Regions from separate parts of the Homo sapiens genome. Here region 2 is linked to region 1. The links are contacts of gene promoters, found by promoter capture Hi-C in human tissues and cell types (Jung and others, 2019). All regions are on one chromosome and are shown on one strand. Each heading gives the region's core, a stretch centred on a gene start or on the middle of the fragment in contact. The rest is flanking DNA. Distances are from core to core; before and after follow the strand shown. Region 1 holds the start of FARP2 (FERM, ARH/RhoGEF and pleckstrin domain protein 2). Region 2 overlaps CAPN10 (calpain 10).

The links. Contacts are between HindIII fragments. The study calls those that stand out against the background at their distance.
Region 2: a contact is called between a fragment that was not itself captured here and the fragment with the promoter of FARP2 in region 1, in 1 of the 25 tissues and cell types used here (dorsolateral prefrontal cortex).

Annotation. Positions count from the first base shown.
Region 1 is chr2:241,355,035-241,360,815 of GRCh38, reverse strand. FARP2 (FERM, ARH/RhoGEF and pleckstrin domain protein 2) reads right to left here and starts at 4,531. Exons shown (of 27, transcript NM_014808.4): 1 at 4,428-4,531. RefSeq lists a silencer at 4,194-4,743. The HindIII fragment of the contact is 18,573 bases long and covers 1-5,781 here.
Region 2 is chr2:240,597,541-240,602,835 of GRCh38, reverse strand. It overlaps CAPN10 (calpain 10), which reads right to left. Exons shown (of 12, transcript NM_023083.4): 10 at 4,749-4,948; 11 at 4,439-4,484; 12 at 3,732-4,185. The coding sequence ends at 4,156. Among named protein-coding and RNA genes, the nearest start is that of CAPN10, 13 kb to the right of the region's middle. The HindIII fragment of the contact is 8,272 bases long and covers 1-5,295 here.

The sequences.
Region 1 (5,781 bases), core at 3,282-5,781:
AGCCAAAGGAAGAAATATTACACAGGTGTGTTAGATAATTAACAAACGTTATTTTTCTCAATTTAGCCATTTGCATTATTCATCAGCTTTTTCAAATTTGTTACGTTCTCATTCTAAATATTCACTTTTTTTTTTTTTTTTTGAGACAGAGTCTCGCTCTGTCACCCAGGCTGGAGTGCAGTGGCGTGATCACGGCTCACTGCAACCTCCACCTCTCGGGTTCAAGTGATTCTCCTGCCTCAGCCTCCTGAGAAGCTGGGAATACAGGCACATGCCACCACACTTGGCTCATTTTTTGTATTTTTAGTAGAGACGGGGGGTTTCACTGTGTTAGCCAGGATGGTCTTCATCTCTTGACCTTGTGATCCACCTGCCTCTCCATCTCTTGACCTCGTGATCCACCCACCTCGGCCTCCCAAAGTGCTATGATTACAGGCGTGAGCCACCGCTCCCAGCCTCACTTTCTAAATTAGTTTTTATTTGTAACTTTGCATTCTTTCTCTTAAAGAGTTCTCCCCTTCCCCCAAATTGTATACCTTCAAGCTCCATAAAACCTGGCATCTACCTCTGCCTCAGAAGAAATCTGATTAATTCATTCAAATATTTATTGAGCTCTATTCTGTTTCAGGCAAGTCTAAATGCTTAGGGATACAGGAGTTCCTAAGAGAGAAAAATTCCCCCCTATATAGTGGACAAATACAAAGAAGAGAGTACCTAATATATATTAAATGGTGATTTAAGTGCCTTGGAGTGAGTAAAGTGAGGGTGGTAGAGAGGAAGTTGGCAGCTGGAGGGAGACAGGGAGGAGGCTTCATCAAGAGGACAAGGTCCAAGACAAGGCCTCAAAAATGCACTGGTACACATTACAACAGCTACCGTGTCCTGTATGACCACCACTGCAAGGAGATGCATGTCAAGCCCTTCGCTTATGTCATCTCATTTAATCCTCACAATAACCATGTGCAGCTGGCATCAAGGAACTCAGGCTCAGAAAGGTTAGTGATTTGTTAGCAGTCACTCAGCTCCACAAGCGGCCTCAACCCCATCGTGATTGCATGGTGTGCACAGAGCACACAAAGATACAGAAGTTTAATTCAGAAAGGGAGACGACTGAGAAAGTAACCAGTACTACCTGCCCACTGCAGTCACAGAGAGAGCAGAAAGAAAGAGGCAGCACCGCTGGCTAGCCTGACCTGGAGCAGCTTTCCTCACAGGGGAACAGGAGACCAGGTGGACAAAGGACATAGTGTGTGCACAGGCAGAGGACTACATAGAAACTGCAGGAGCAGCTGGGAAAGGATGAGTATAGTTGGGCTGAGACACCCGAGGGGAGGTGGGGAGGTGGCCTGGGGTTGTGCTGCGCGAGCTCTAGTGGGCCAACTGGTTGGAATCTCATACCAAAGTAGGTTTTGCAGCTGGGATAGGACATGACCACATTTTCATTTTGGGAAGCAATCAGGAGGATGGGCGGGGAAGGGGAAAGATGGGATTAAGCAAGATTCATCACTGCATCCTACAACATTATAGGGCCTTTTTGTTTTTGAATTTTAAAATGGCAATAAGCTAAAACACCAGTTTAGGGGAAAACAATTCATGACTCTTAAAATAAAACCACTTACAACACTCTAACTACCCTCCTGATCCTGTTCACCTCCTCATGTATTTTTACAACACTATGATTGCTGTGTACACACCATTTCAACTTTTCAGTTAAGTCACATTTTAAAGCATATTTCCATGGATCAAAATGGTTCAAATTTTCCTTGGATGGGAGGATGGGATTCAGCTTGTGGAAGCATGTTTACTTGCTATGGAGTACTCTACCCTACTGACACAACAAAGTTTATCAGATTGTTTTGAAAAGTGTGATTCCAAAATCAAAATCTTTGCCACATACTGCTACTTTCCAAAAAGATTAGACCAATTTATAGAATCACTGTCAACTAAACGCTCCCCAGAAAATCACCAAAGACTGGGCTTTATCATATTGCTTTGTAGGATCCTCAACTTTTCAACTCCCTGTGGCATTGACAAATACGCTATGGTCAAAGGACTCTATATTCTGATCTCAGAGAACATGACCGGAATTACCTCAGCTCAGTATCCAACACTACAATGGGGTTTTGCCTGTATATCTAGCACTATGCTGTGTTTATGAAGCTCATGACGCACTGAGTAAAGGGGAAGCTGGCAAGCTGATATGAAAGTGGGTGAAGGAAAAATAAGAACAAAACTGAAAGGACAAGCAGCAGTAAGAAAAATCTGTTACTGTCCGAATATAGAAGAGGTATTGATGTGACTAGAAGCAGGGGTGTTTGGAAAGGAAGGAAGCAACTGAATTCTTTGGGCCAAATGGATTTAAATGAGCTCACATGGAATTGCCCATGCATTGATCTTTGCTTTGGCAATCCAGTTCATACCATTCCCTCTAAACAGGATAAATTTGCTTAATTATTGCCTAATTTTTTCTCTACTGTTTTTTGTAAATATCCAGGGTTAGCTTGTTCTACTTTCTACTCGGATTATTTGTCCACCTGATAATAATAATGGCTAACATTTATTAAGCACTTACCTTGTGCCAGGCATCTTGTTAACACAGCTTTTTTTATTTATTTTTTTATTTTTTTGAGACAGAGTCTCGCTCTGTCGCCCAGGATGAAGTGCAGTGGCACAATCTTGGCTCAATGCAACCTCCACCTCCTGGGTTCAAGTGATTCTCGTGCCTCAGCCTCTCAAGTAGCTATGATTACAGGCGTGCGCCACCAGCCCAGCTAATTTTTGTATTTTTAGTAGAGATGGGGTTTCGCCCTGTTGAGCAGGCTGGTCTGGAACCCCTGAGCTCATGCAATCTGCCTGCCTCGGCCTCCCAAAGTGCTGGGATTACAGCCACTGTGCCTGGCCAAGTAAATTTTAAACTCATTTTTTGAATAAGGAACCTGAGGCAGAGAGAAATGAATACACCTTATATCAACTTCCTCTTTGGGAAAGGAATTAGTATACAAGGAACCTGGAAATTTACTAACGACTGATAGTCCTATAGGTAAATAAGCCAGCAAACGTCTGCAGTCCAGGAAACTGCATCATCAGCATTTAGTTTGTTAACAGTGAACCACCTAATGAGAATCTGCAACAAGGATAGGGCACATGAGAAGTACAGATGGTATTTGCAAGTACCCTAGGTGTGACCCTAAACTGGTCATTCCACCTCTCTCAACCTCCCTTTCCTCTACTTTAAAACGGGGCTGTGCAACTTGGTCATGTCTCTGAAGAGTTTTGGAAAACTGAATAAATAACGAGCATGAAGTGCTTCCTAAACCTTTAAGGACCTCAAAAAACAAAACAAAACAAAACTTTCAACAAGCAGATGTAGAAAATTTAAATTATATTTGGCCTACAAGTAAAGGTTACTCCATGCTTCCCTACCTCAAATGTCCTCTCCCATCTCTCTGGTACTGAGAAAATCTGTGTCGCCTGTTATAAGGCAGTCTACACAAGACCAACACGCTAACCCACTGCCACCTCAGGGTTATCAAACATTTACACAGTGGCCCAGACAAAAATATCCCACGGAAACAAAACAAAAACAAAAACCCAGAGAGAAAAACCACCCTTTAAAGATTTGGCCTTGGGTTTTAAATTTGCCCATCCCTTTTTAACACTATGTATTGACAATCTTTCCTTCAATGATGCCTTGTTCTAATTTCTGCTTTTCACATCCATTAATGGCACATGATAGGCCAGGGGTTGCTGCCATAGCGTAAACGGAAAAGGTGCCCGTAATTCGGGTGTGTAATGTACTGGGCCATATTCTGGTCCCCAGTTTTCATGGGTTTCCCAAAGGCTACCCACTGGCTTATGAGTATTTCTAGCCCTTAGTGGAGTAAAAATATTAACACCTAACACTTGATTCCCACCTTTAAGATACAATTTAAAGAAATGCTAAAAAGGCAAACGGCTCAAAATGCCTCCACCAGGCACCTCCAGGCCCATACCCTGCGGGTCCCTATGGCCCACTCTGGGGTGTCCTTCCGGGATGGGACACTCCCCGGCCCACGGCCCTGCCGGCCTCCACGGGGCACAACTCAACCCGCGAGTCCACGCGGGACACTCCCCGGTCTACAGCCCCACCGGCCTCCTCCACGCGGCACCCCTCAACCCGGGAGTCCACGCGGGCCACTCCCCGGCCCACCGCCCCGCCTGCCCCCACGCGGCAGGCTCCCTACAGACGGACGCTCCTCTAACCCGGACCCGCCTAGGAGCTCCAGCCGCCTCACGATGGCCTTCAGAGGCCGGGCGGGACCATCTCTGGTGGACCGCGGCCTCAGCGCCCCCCCCGCCTGGGCCTCTCGCCTCGGGCCTCGGGCTTCGCCGCCCACCCGGAGAGGCCCACCCCTGCCCCACGCGCCCAGGCCGCTTCACGTCCTCACCCTCGGCCTCTCGCTCGCCCGCCGCGTCCTCACCGGCCTCGCCCGGCCTCCGCAGTCGCAAGCAGCAGCCGCCAGACTCGCGTCGGCGTCGCCTGCTCCCAACTGCCCGCCGGCAGCCCCCGCGCAGCGCGCCCCGCCCTGACCCCGCCCCCGCGACGCGGACGCGCAGTCGATTGGCCTGCGGGGCGCCAGGGCGGAGCCTTCCCGTCCCGCGGCCTGAAAGCGCAAGATCGAGTTCTGATTGGTGAACGGACGGAGAAGGGGCGGGAGCAGGCAGGCAGCTGCGTAGGATATAAATCTGTGCAGCGCTCGGCTCGTTGGGCGGGGCGTCGGCTTGCTGAGCGAGGCAATGTCCTAGGCGAAGCCAAGGCTCGCTGGGCGGGGCTAGATCTTGGGCGGGGAGTCGGCTCGTTGGGTGGGGCTAGGTCCTGGGCGGGGAGTCGGCTCGCTGGGCGGGGCTAGGTCCTGGGCGGGGAGTCGGCTCGCTGGGCGGGGCTAGGTCCTGGGCGGGGAGTCGGCTCGCTGGGCGGGGCTAGGTCCTGGGCGGGGAGTCGGCTCGCTGGGCGGGGCTAGGTCCTGGGCGGGGAGTCGGCTCGCTGGGCGGGGCTAGGTCCTGGGCGGGGAGTCGGCTCGCTGGGCGGGGCTAGGTCCTGGGCGGGGAGTCGGCTCGCTGGGCGGGGCTAGGTCCTGGGCGGGGAGTCGGCTCGCTGGGCGGGGCTAGGTCCTGGGCGGGGAGTCGGCTCGCTGGGCGGGGCTAGGTCCTGGGCGGGGAGTCGGCTCGCTGGGCGGGGCTAGGTCTTGGGCGAGGTCTAGGCTCGCTGGGCGCGGATAGGTGCTGGGCGAGGCCTAGGCTTGCTGGGCGCGGATAGGTGCTGGGCGAGGCCTAGGCTTGCTGGGCGCGGATAGGTGCTGGGCGAGGCCTGGCTCGCTGGGCGGGGATAGGTCTTGGCCCGGGCCTTGCCGGCTGTCCTTGCACCCTTTGGCTCAGTCCCTGGCTGCCAGCCTCCTCCTTCCTCCAACGCATTGCATCCCTCGTGGGACTACAGGGACCGAAGGGGATCATCGAAGGATCGCGCGAGGCTGTGCTAAGGCTGAGACAGGCTGCTCCGTGGTGGCGGCCAGGACGGCCTTCCTCTGGCCTAGGGACCCCCACCCGAGAATGGAAGACTGACTTGCTGTGGCACACTTCCCTTCTCTTGAGAAGTTCATTGAACTCCTATGTGTTCTTCAAGACCCTACCCATCGTGCTCTCCTAGCCCGGCCCTGTCACCCACTGTCACCATGTGGCTGTTGAGGGAATAATTAACTTCAGGAAACACCCGGGCACTTAAGAGACTCCTCCTATGGTGCTGTG
Region 2 (5,295 bases), core at 1,862-4,361, 760 kb after region 1:
TGGCAGCTGTGCCGCAGGAGGCTGGCAGGAGTGGCGGCGGTGCCCCAGGAGCCTGGCGGGAGTGGCGGCGGTGCCCCAGGAGCCTGGAGGGAGTGGGCGGCGGTGCCCCAGGAGCCTGGCGGGAGTGGCCGGCGGTGCCCCAGGAGCCTGGCGGGAGTGGTGGCGGTGCCCCAGGAGCCTGGCGGGAGTGGCAGCGGTGCCACAGGAAGCTGGTGGCAGGAACCACCATCACTGGGTTTGGCTCGCCGGGGGCGGAGGGCATTAGACCTCTAAACAGCAGAGGCCAGGAGACAATCATGAACACGGCTGAAGGGCGCCAAGGGGCCTGCCTGCAGGGCTTACGGAATGGCAGCAGAGCAAGGCAGGGCTGCCAGCGAGGGCAGCGCTCAGGTGGAGCCGGCAGAGGGGTCCAGGAGGGCTGAGGGTGGTCACTCCGATAGAGCCCCAGTTGGGCCCACACTGCCCGAGTCGGTTTTCAGCCCAGGTATCTGCTGACTGAAGAGGTGGCCAGGCCTGCAAGATGAAGGACACTCCCCACATCAGCAAGTGTGCATGACAAGGACCTCCCCGGGGACTATGTGCACCAGGAAGAGAATATCCAGGCATCTGGGAGCCACTGAGCACACAGGCCCCAAGCTGATGCTGGTCCCCAAGAGTCACCAGGGCTCCATGACAGTGGGACACATCACAGGCAGTTAATAATGGAGTCCTGCCCAGGACCAGCTCACATGAGCCCACAGGGCCTACAGACCCACCCGGGGCCATGTCCCGGTCTCTGAGCCTGTGACTGGGATTGACACCTGGGGAGCGACCGATATCTCTGCTGCATCCTTGGGGTAGAGATGGCCGTGGGAAGGCCAAGAGGGACACTGGAAGGCCAAGACTGTCCCCTCCTGCCCGGGTCCCAGAGCAGCCGTGGCATGCGGAGAGAGGGTGGTGGCCCTGCTCTCTCCATTTGGTTCAGTGTGGCCCCGTGGGATGGGATTCCTGGAGGGCCACGTGGCGAGTGCACACACAGCCGAGGGGCAGCCCAGTGCAGCAGGTCCTGGAGGTCCAGGTACCCAGGGTTGGCCATCAACTGGACGAATACGCCACGGAAGATCAGAAGCTGCTCACATTTATATGAAATTTGTATGGAATGGACAAAGGCATTTGCTGTTTCTCCTGGGGCCTCTGCCGGAATACAGGACAGAGACCCCAGCTGGCCGGACACCCTGAAGAGCACCGCACTGATCCATGACCTTGGCAACAGGATGCTGATGGTGTCAGAGCAGGAGGCAGCCAGGGACAAACAACACCAGGCCGGGGCCTTCTGCACCAGAAATGTTTAGGTTGGCTGGGGGTTAGAGCCCTGCCAGACATCCCCTCCAACTGCATCTGGAACCTCCCATCAGAAGGAAGCACAAGGCCTCAGGGCTCTCCGCAGGCTTCGGAGGGAGCGTTTTCCACACCCAGGAACATGGTTCCAGCTGGTAGACCAAATGGCCAAAGCAGCCAGGTCGAGTGGAGCCAATCTACACTGGGGCGATGATGGGTGCCAACCATGGCCTCTAAAGTCACGGAACCCTGCGCTTTCGAGGCCTCCTCTCAGGCAGTAGCCTGGGACGCGGGAAGCAGGTCCTGGCTGTGGCCTTTGGGCAGAGCTGCCCAGCAGGAGGGTGTGGCCGCCACCTTCAGGGCCTGCCTCGGGGACAGTGGCTCCTGAGGGCCTGGGGGAAGGGATGCTCAACATAAGGGCCTGGCCAGCCCAGGTGGGGCCCTGCAGGCAGGGTTTGCTCCAGAACTCTTCACGGGGTCCCCACCAGTCTATCCTGACATGGACACAGTCCCTGCAACTGTCTTCCCTTCATAGGCACTGTGCCTGAGAAATACCTTGACCCCAACTGTCCCACCTCAACCTGCACCATCAGGCGCCCTGCACAGGACCTGTCCGCCCACAAACCCAGGGATCTAGGGCAGCTCCGACCCAGCTCAAGCCTCTGGCTTGGGCACTGCCCTGCGGGGTATTTCTTTGGTGAGCCGCCCCTCACTGTTCGCCCTGAGTTGCTGTACCCCAATAGGCGGCACCACTGGCTTCATCCGAAGTCAGCACAGAAGCCAGTGGATGAGGGAGATCTGTGGCAGGCTCTGCACGCAGGGAGATGGAGCCCCATCCTGCTGCTCAAGAATCCGTGTCTGAAGATGCCGAGAACCCAGCTGCCACAGCCACTGCTGCTGGAGGGCCATTGAACCAGCAAGCAGAGGGGCTCACGGGGCAGGCTCCAGGGCCAGGGCAGCTTCCTGTGGGTGAGTCAGGAGGGTGGCTTGGCGTGGCCAGGGCGTGGAGAGGGGGACAGCGGCACAGGTCCCAGTGGGAACAGACACCAGGACTCCAGAGATGGTCGTGATCCGGCAGCAAGGCCCAAATCAGGCTCACTGGGTGCTATGGTTTGAATTTGTGTTCCTGCCCAAATCTCATGTCGAATTATAATCCCCAGTGTTGGAGGAGCCTGGTGGGAGATGATTGGATCATGGGAGCGGATATCCCCCTTGCTGTTTTGGTGATAGTGAGTTCTCCTAAGATCTGGTCATTTAAAAGTGCACAGCACCTCCCCTTCGCTCTCTTCCTCCTTCTCCAGACACCTGCAGACTGCCTGCTTTCCCTCCGCCATGATTCTAAGTTTCCTGAGGCCTCCCCAGCCATGCTTCCTGTACAGTCTTCGGAACTGAGGCAATCAAACCTCTTTTCTTTATAAATTACCAGTCTCAGAGTTGTTTACAGCAATGTGAAAAAGGACCAATACACGGGGTCTCCCCAGGCACAAAGGGACTCAGGAAGCGAATGGAATTTAAAAGGGATTAGAGCTGGGGTTGGCGGTCATGCCTGCAATCTTAGTGCTTTGGGAGACCAAGGCAGGAGGATCACTGAGGCCAGCCTAGGCAACCACATACTAAGACCCCTAAGCATTCAAAACTTGAAAAAACTAACCAGGCATGGAGTGTGCGCCTGTTTTCCTACCCACCTGGGAGGCTGAAGAGGGAGGATCACCTGAGCCCAGAAGGTCGAGGCTGCAGTGAGCTATGATCATGCCACTGCACTCCAGCCTGAGCAACAGAGCAAGACCCTGTCTCTAAAACAAAAGGGCTTAGTGACAGCCCTCCCCACCCATGTCTGGAACTGTCTTCTGCACCGTTCAGTGACACTACAGCTCTCATCACAGCATTTGGTGTGAGGGACGAGGGAGAGAGGCCTGGGGAAATAAACAATCCTAGGACACTGCGCAGGTGAACCCTGGCTGGAGGCAGAGGAGCCGTCCAGATCCAAGGCTCCCAGTCCATGTGAACCTGGGGTTCCTCCCTCTGCGCAACTCCGGTTCTAACACCCGTTTCCGAGATGTCCTTCTTCGCCACAGCCTTGGCAGTGCCTTCGCTGGCTCTCCCCACCCCTCACTCCCCAGTCTATCAGTCTGTGTCCCCCAAGACCAGGGCTTGACCTGCCCCGGCCAGCCTCAACCTCAGCCCCCTGGCCTGGGGCATGCCCTGGGCCCGCCCCTCCAAACTTCTCCCCTCCTCCCCACTCACCATCTCCCCCTGAAACCTGCCCTGCCTGGGTTGGCTCTGCCCACCTCCCAGGCCCCCAGCCCCTCCAGAGGCCATCCTCATCCTCACCATCTCGGCAGGCACCCAGCCCTCCCCACAGCCTGCTTGGCAAGAGCAGGCACAGCCTGGAACTACCTGGAGCAAGACTGATCTGCAAATCATCAGCGCTCATGTTTATTTATAAAGTTACATCCTAAAAGTGATTCGAACAATAAATAGTTATAAAGAAGATCTGCTGCCCTACCCTCTGGGTGTGAGGCCTCCATATGGAGTCAGCAGAGGATCTGGGAGGGATCCTGGGAAGCTCTGGGATCCTGGGGTCTCTGCCGTCTCAGTGGCGCAACAGAAGCCAGCAAGCTTCCCACCCTTCCTTGCAGCACCAGCTGGCCCCCAGGGCTGCGTCTCTCCTGACGGAGGCTTCCCGTGGACCCCTAGGCCGCAGCCTCCTGGCAGGGCTGGGAGGCAGGCCAAGACTCAGGACCAGCCCCCACAGTGCAAGGCTGGCCGGCCCAGCTGCTGGGAACCTGTCAGGCCCTCGGGCTCCAGTCACCTGAGCTGGCACAGGGGGCCACCCTGTTAGGTTTTCATCACTGCCATGATGGAGACCTGCAAAGACAGATGGGGGGCCCGGGCAGCGGTGGCACTCGCCCCTTCTCACACCCCACCCCGAGTGCAGCCAGGGAATGGGACGCAGCCTCAGCTCCCCCTGCCCTTCAAGGCACCGCCCGGGGCTCTCACAGGAAGAGTCAAGGGCACCTCACGTCCCAGGCAGAAACCACCTGCCTGAGGTTGCAGGTAGACCCTAGGCCACCAGGCAGCCCCAGGCAGGTGAGCCGGGCTGGCGGGGCTGCATACACACCTCTTGGAGGAACTGGCCCAGCATCTCCTGGCTGTGAATGGATGGCCTGTGGAGAGACACCAGATCAGCGCTCCCAGACTGCACTTGTCACACAAGTGGCTGTGTGCTCCTGGCCCACCTCCCACTAGACTCTCCTTCCAGGCTCAGACCAGCAAGGAAGGGTCCCCAGGTAGGCAGGACAGCCCTGGTCTGCCAGGACAGATAGGGGCTTGAGGGTGAGGGGCAGGCAGGAGACGTGGGGGGACAGGCGAGCACTAAGACTCCAGCACCCCAGCCTCCAGCTGGCCGCCCCCAAGTCCCAGAGCCCCACCTGTCAATCCTGGTTGCGATGGTCACTGTGAAGGCCCCCTCTGTGTCCGGCAGGTAGGTGGAGGGCACAACCTTGTAGGTGCCCGCAGGCAGGAGGCAGAGCCGGCTCACCTCCTGGGCGTAGCGATGTGGCACGCAGCTCAGCAGCGGCTCCTGCAGCAGCAGTGGGGGTGCGTCCTGGCTCCTTCCACCCTCTGGGACCTGAGGAAAGCGCAGGCTCAGACTGAGGGGGCCAGCCTTGGGGTAGGGAGCCCAGCCCAGGGCCATCTGCTCGGATGCCCTTGGCCCTCTTGAGTCACATACAGCCCCTTCTCTGAGGAGGGGCTGCCAGGCCTGGACACTGGACTCGCCTCCTCACCAAGGCCTGGCCACCCTTGCCAGAAGGTGCCGGCAGTGGGGCCCCCGCCTGGAGGCCTGTCACATCATCAGGGGCTTTAACACCTGTGACTGCCCAGCCCGCCCCAAGGGCTCCCACTGGCCCTGGCATGTGTTTTCCTCAGAGCTCTAGGGGACCTGAGCCGGTGGCCCAGGGCAAACAGCGAGGGTCC